Regions from separate parts of the Homo sapiens genome. Here region 2 is linked to region 1. Evidence: promoter capture Hi-C in 16 types of primary human blood cells and fetal thymus (Javierre and others, 2016). All regions are on one chromosome and are shown on one strand. The core of a region is centred on a gene start or on the middle of the fragment in contact, and the rest is flanking DNA. Distances in the headings are between cores, read along the strand shown. Region 1 holds the start of SEMA5B (semaphorin 5B). Region 2 overlaps SLC49A4 (solute carrier family 49 member 4).

The links. Contacts are between HindIII fragments. The CHiCAGO score rates a contact against its expected background, and 5 or more counts as called.
Region 2: a fragment that was not itself captured here is called in contact with the fragment with the promoter of SEMA5B in region 1 in 1 of 17 cell types (M2 macrophages); the score reaches 6.1 in M2 macrophages.

The regions. Positions count from the first base shown.
Region 1 is chr3:123,026,449-123,029,148 of GRCh38, forward strand. It overlaps SEMA5B (semaphorin 5B), which reads right to left and starts at 1,315. Exons shown (of 23, transcript NM_001031702.4): 1 at 1,016-1,315. RefSeq lists an enhancer at 1,919-2,426. The HindIII fragment of the contact is 2,453 bases long and covers 1-2,223 here.
Region 2 is chr3:122,820,810-122,823,516 of GRCh38, forward strand. All of the region lies in intron 2 of SLC49A4 (solute carrier family 49 member 4), which reads left to right. Among named protein-coding and RNA genes, the nearest start is that of SLC49A4, 27 kb to the left of the region's middle. The HindIII fragment of the contact is 573 bases long and covers 1,033-1,605 here.

The sequences.
Region 1 (2,700 bases), core at 65-2,564:
GGGGCGGGGGCGGGGAGGAGGGGGCCAGAACGGCGCTGCAGGTGATCCTCCTCCTTGTTTAAAGTTTGCGGTGGGCAAAGGAGTCGGCTCCGTTGGGCCGGGTTTTCTCGAGCCTCGCCTTCTTCCTCCGCCGGTCCGGCGACCACTTCCCTCTTGGCTCCCGCCCCGCGCGGGTCCCCGATCCCCTCTCCCGTCTGCATCCCTCTCTGTGCCCGAGCGCCCCCCGCTCCCTCCCTCCTCGCTGGATCTCCCGCAGGACGTGAGCGGAAAGTGAATGGGCAGCCCCAACCACAAAGACAAATTACCATGAGAAACATAAATCGGGAAATCGCCGCTCGCGTCCCTGCTTCCAGCTGCCGCACCCCTCTCCACCCTCCCAGCCGGGAGTGCGGGGCCCTGAGCCACTGCCCCTGGAGCCTGGTGGGCAGAGTTCACGCTCCGCAGGCCTGGTCAGGGCAAGAGTGTCCTGGAGGCGGGTCTGGGAAGAATCCGGGCGGCGGCTCCGCAGGCGGCGGCGGTGGAGCAGGGACGTCCCTGAGCGGGAGATTTCACACTCTGGGCGGGCCACGCGTTCCCACGCGCCTCGCCGCCCGCACTCTCCCTCAGTGCTGTTTACTAGCCGGCCCTCTCTGAGCCTCCATCTCCGCACCTCTGTCCCTCCGTCCCTCAGCCTCACTCGTCCGTCTCCTTCTCCAGGCCTGGGTCCCGGGTCCCCATCGCCGCTGCAGCCCAGATGCGCCGACCACAGCCCTGGCAGGGCCCAGTGCAACCCGGACCCAAGCTGGCTGGCGGCGGGAACGCAGCAGCGATGAGGGCTCTCAAGCCGAGGTGGCAGCGGGAGGCGCGGAAGCCAGGGGACCCCCTGTCCTCCCGCCCGCAGCCTCACCTACCTGGCTTCAACTTGCCAGAGCCCGGACCCCTACCTCTCTACCCCGATACCCACCCGAGTTGCTGAAGTTTGCAAGTTGCAGCCCCAACCCGCGCAGGGGAAGCGCCCGGGGCTCCCGGGACTCACCTCCCAGAGGCGGGTGCAGGTGCCCGGTTCCCCGCGGCTCCCGACTCCCGGGCGGCGCGGAGCGGCGGGAGCTAACCAGATGGGCTGGCGGCCGGTCTGGGAATGGGGCGGCCGCGCAGGAACGGCCTCCAGCTCTCAGCGCTCCGGTGCAGTCCCCACCCGGGCCCGCGCCCGCTGCGCTCGGGCTCCCAGCAGCCGCTGGATGCGCTGCCGACCCGCCCGGCTCGGCGGAGCTGGGCTCTGGCACCAACCCCCGCGCTCCAACTAGCTCCCGACCCGGCGCTCGGAGAGAGCAGGGAGGAGGAGACCGCGGGAGCAGAAGGAGGGAGGGGGCGGTGGGGGAGGAGTTGCAAGCAAAGGGAGAGAAGGAGGGGAGCGGGAGCGAAAAAGAGGAGGGGGCTGGAGCAGACCTGCCGCGGCGGGCGCTGCACCCGCCAGCCTCGAGGCGCGCGGAGGAGCGCGAGGGGGCGCCCTGCATCCCGCGGCTGCTCGGCCGACTCCCGCCCCGGGCCTGCCGAGTGTGGTGACCAGCCCGGTGGGCCGAAGCCCCTTCCCCGGCCGGCATTCCGGCGGCAAGACCTAGGACTCCGAGCACTTGCCGCCGTTTGCCACATCCCGCCTTGCCGTTCTCGGTCACCCCATCTCGAATGTGACATCCCCGAGGGCCATCGGCGCGGCCTGCCCACCCCAACACTCAGGGCCTGAGGAAGCTCCCCCAAACCCCACTCCGGACTCCCACATTCCCCAGCCCCGTCAGTTCGGAACGATCTTCCTGCCTGTGGATTTGAAGGGGAAGGGACCTCGTGTAAAACGGGGGAGAGCCGTTATAACCTGCAGCGGCAGAGAGGGAGGCTAGGCTGCTGGGCTGGGCTGGAAAGCCAGAACTGGCCGGATTAGGGTTAACCTTGCAAACTGTACGATACCGAGCGAACCTCTCCAAGCCTCAGTTTCCTCAGCTGTAAACTGGGGTTAGTAATACGCACCCTACAGAATTGTGAAGAACGAGTAGGGGATACGGGGAGTAAAATAACATCAGGAACAGTGGGAGGGCAGCCAAGAGATGAGCGATCCGGGGAGGTGGTGGAGCGTTCTCAGCTGAGGACGGAAGGTTTAGCGCAATCACAAGGAGCGAGGCCGAATTGTTTACAAGTTTAAGTGATCTAGTGTTTCTGATGGCTAGAAGGCGGGAGAGAAAGATTCAAGGGGCAAGCTTCAAATCCTAGCTGCCCGGGCTGCAAGAGGGATGGGAAGGGAGCCCTCTGCTGAACAAAAAATATATTTGAAAATGTAAAAAAAGGTGACCTAAGAACGAGTGAGAAAGACAAAGGATTTGAAAAATTAAAACCAGGAAAGTGTGATTCTAAGAGATAACCAAAGAGAACTATGAAATAAAAATAGATAAGTTGGAGGAAGGAAAATATCAAAAGACTTTCTAGAGTATGCCAAAAATTGGATAATTAGAACAAAGTCTGAGTGAAGCATTTTACATAATAAAATTCTGGGTAAAGGAAAACCCAGATAAAGCAGAAGAATTGAGACACTAAGAGCCCCAGAGAAGCACCTCCTGCCTGCCATCCTCCTACCCCTGGACCATGGCAAGAAGCAGTTTGACAGGATAATGGGAAAGAAAGGGTGGTTCTGAATCCAAGAAGGGAGTTTATGAGACACTGTAAAAAGAGAAACAG
Region 2 (2,707 bases), core at 69-2,568, 210 kb before region 1:
TCAGCAGTGCTGATGCTAGTGGGCAGCACCAGGTCTCCCTCTCTAGTCTCCACCATTCCTGCTCTGCCAATGCAGGAGAAGTTCCCCTCTGATATGGTTTGGCTGTGTCCCCACCCAAATCTCATCTTGAACTGTAGTTCCCATAATCCCCACATGTGGGAGAGACCTGGTGGGAGGTAATTGAATCGGGGGTGGTTACCCCCATGCTGCTGTTCTTGTGATAGTGTGTGAGTGTCGTGAGATCTGATGGTTTTATAAAGGGCATTTCCCCTGCACACACTGTCTTGCCTGCCGCCATGTAAGGCATGCCTTTACTCCTCCTTCGCTTTCCACCATGATTCTGAGGCCTTCCAGCCATGTGGAACTGTGAGTCCATTAAACTTCTTTTTCTTTATAAATTACTCAGTCTCGGGTATGTCTTTATTAGCAGCAGAGAATGGACTAATACACCCTCTCTCATTCACTTTTCCATCTGGCTTGTGGGGATGGGATGAGCCAGGCTTCAGAAGTAGACAGAGGCTAGGTAAGGAGGAAAAAAAGGGAAAAGGAGAAAGACTTCAGAGAAGAGGGAAGAAAAGGGAGTTGGGGGCCGTGGGTTGGGAGGTGGATGGAGAAACAGGAGAGAGTTAAGGAGTCAGTATGAGGAGACTGGGCTGAAGGAGGAGGCACACATCTGCTTCCTGACAGATCTCTCACAGCTTGACCTGCAGAGGTGCAAGAGAAATGCAGTCCATTAACTGTGAGGATACACGTGCTTTCATCAGGTGTGGAGTTTCGGGTAAGGAGGCAAGAGTCAGACCCCTTGAATTAACTAGTCCATTACTGGACAACTGCCTTTCTGCTCCAGAGCTTATTGCCCAGAAGACAAAACTGCCTCCTCACACTCCTAACTTCTGCCCACCCTTCCCAAGTCCACTGTGCTTGAGACAGTTATGTCACATTGGCCTTGCTTTTAAAACACCCTAAAACATCCTTTTTTAAAATGTCACATTGGCCTTGCTTTTAAAGCACCCTAAAACATCTTTTTTTAAAAGCTTTATTTTGAGAATATTAGTCATCTTGTTTTTTGTATTACTGAATTTAAACTTGTTAAAATTTATCAATAGAACTGATCTGATGTATGCATTTGGATAACTTTGTGAAGTTTTGGAAACACAGTTTAGTTGCATATTTCAGTGACTGCATGTCCCTGTACTGGGCCCAGTCTGTGAGTTCCCGAGAGCATCCACACTGCCTTAGCGCTATGGGAGTGAGGCCTGTGGGGACTGCTGCCATGATCCTGACCTACAAGGACCTTAACTTTTACCTAGCAAAACAAAACTGAGGCATGTAATGATGACAAACAATTAATATTAAACTGTGTGGTTGACTTCACTGTACTGAAGATTATGAATCCCCCTCCTTCGTTTTTCTTTGTCGTTTTTAATAGTCAGCCCAGATCAACAGGTACTAGTTTCTGAGAGCCAGCTTCTTTCATAAGTGCTTAGAAAGCATTAGGATAATCGTGAGTCGCATTTTATCTTTTAATGTGTGAAAGTGGAGAGACTTTTTAGTTCAGACTGTTCATTTAAGCTGGATGTTTTTTCTTTTCAGTTCACTTCGCTAAGCTTATATAGCTAATTTTTATTCCTGCATCTGTTTCTTCTAGAAATAGTCTAAATCTAGATTTCGATTTCCTCATGAGTCTGACTTCCATGCTGAACACTCCACTGAAACTGCTTCTACTCAGACCACAAATGACCTCTTCTTTGCTGAATCTGGTGGTTACATTTCAGTTATTATAAACGATCTTTCTGTTTGATGTGATGTTGTTGACCACTTGCTCTTATGTTCTTGGAACTCGTCTCTCTTTAGTTGCCGTGATACCAGTCTTTCCTCTTTTGCTTTTTTTCTGCCTTGTAATGGCTCCTTCTCAATCATCTTGCTCGACTCCCATTCCTCTATTTTTAAAATGTTGTTATTCTCTAGTGTTTCTTCCCCACCCCAATCCACCTACAACTTATATTTCTCAGCTCAGACTGCTTTTCTTAGCTTCTGGCCTATATTAGCCACATGTTAGATGTTTGCACAGAGTTATGGGTGCCCTCCAGTATCCACCCCCTCTCCTTGCCATATATATTGTATCACCTTAACGGTTCTCCAGACCATCCGCCCTCCACCTCCCCACTGTGTTGCCAGTACCACTTTAAACCATGCCATAGAGTCCCTGTCCTGGATTCCATGCCTGAGGGTGTCCCATTCTGGCTTTCTTTCAGCCTTGCCCTTCCATGTGGGTTGAGGATTTCATAGGGCCAAGGGGATGTGCACACCCTGCCCTCTACCCTCTAGTCTTATGCACTAGCTACACAAGACCCCAGAAATAGGCCTTACAACAAGCCTGTTTCCCAGGCCTGCTCTTCCAAGAGTAGGCTGCATCCCTGCTGTGTACTTCCTAGGCCTAAGGGATAGCTAAGGGGCAGCTGTTTGGAGGGGATAGTTGGAGCTTAGATGGAGTTGGACCTTCAGCTCCACATGCATATATGCAAAGCCCTGATATATAGGCCAGGGCCAGAGGTCAGAAGAGAAGAAGGACATGCAGAGACCTCCATCTGTACTCTTGTCATAGGCAGCATAAGCATAGGGCAAGGCCTAACTATTGCCTTCTTTTTCTTTATATTCCTGCTACAGTGCTAGTATCACTGTACTTTTAGGGATTCTTAAGGGCAAG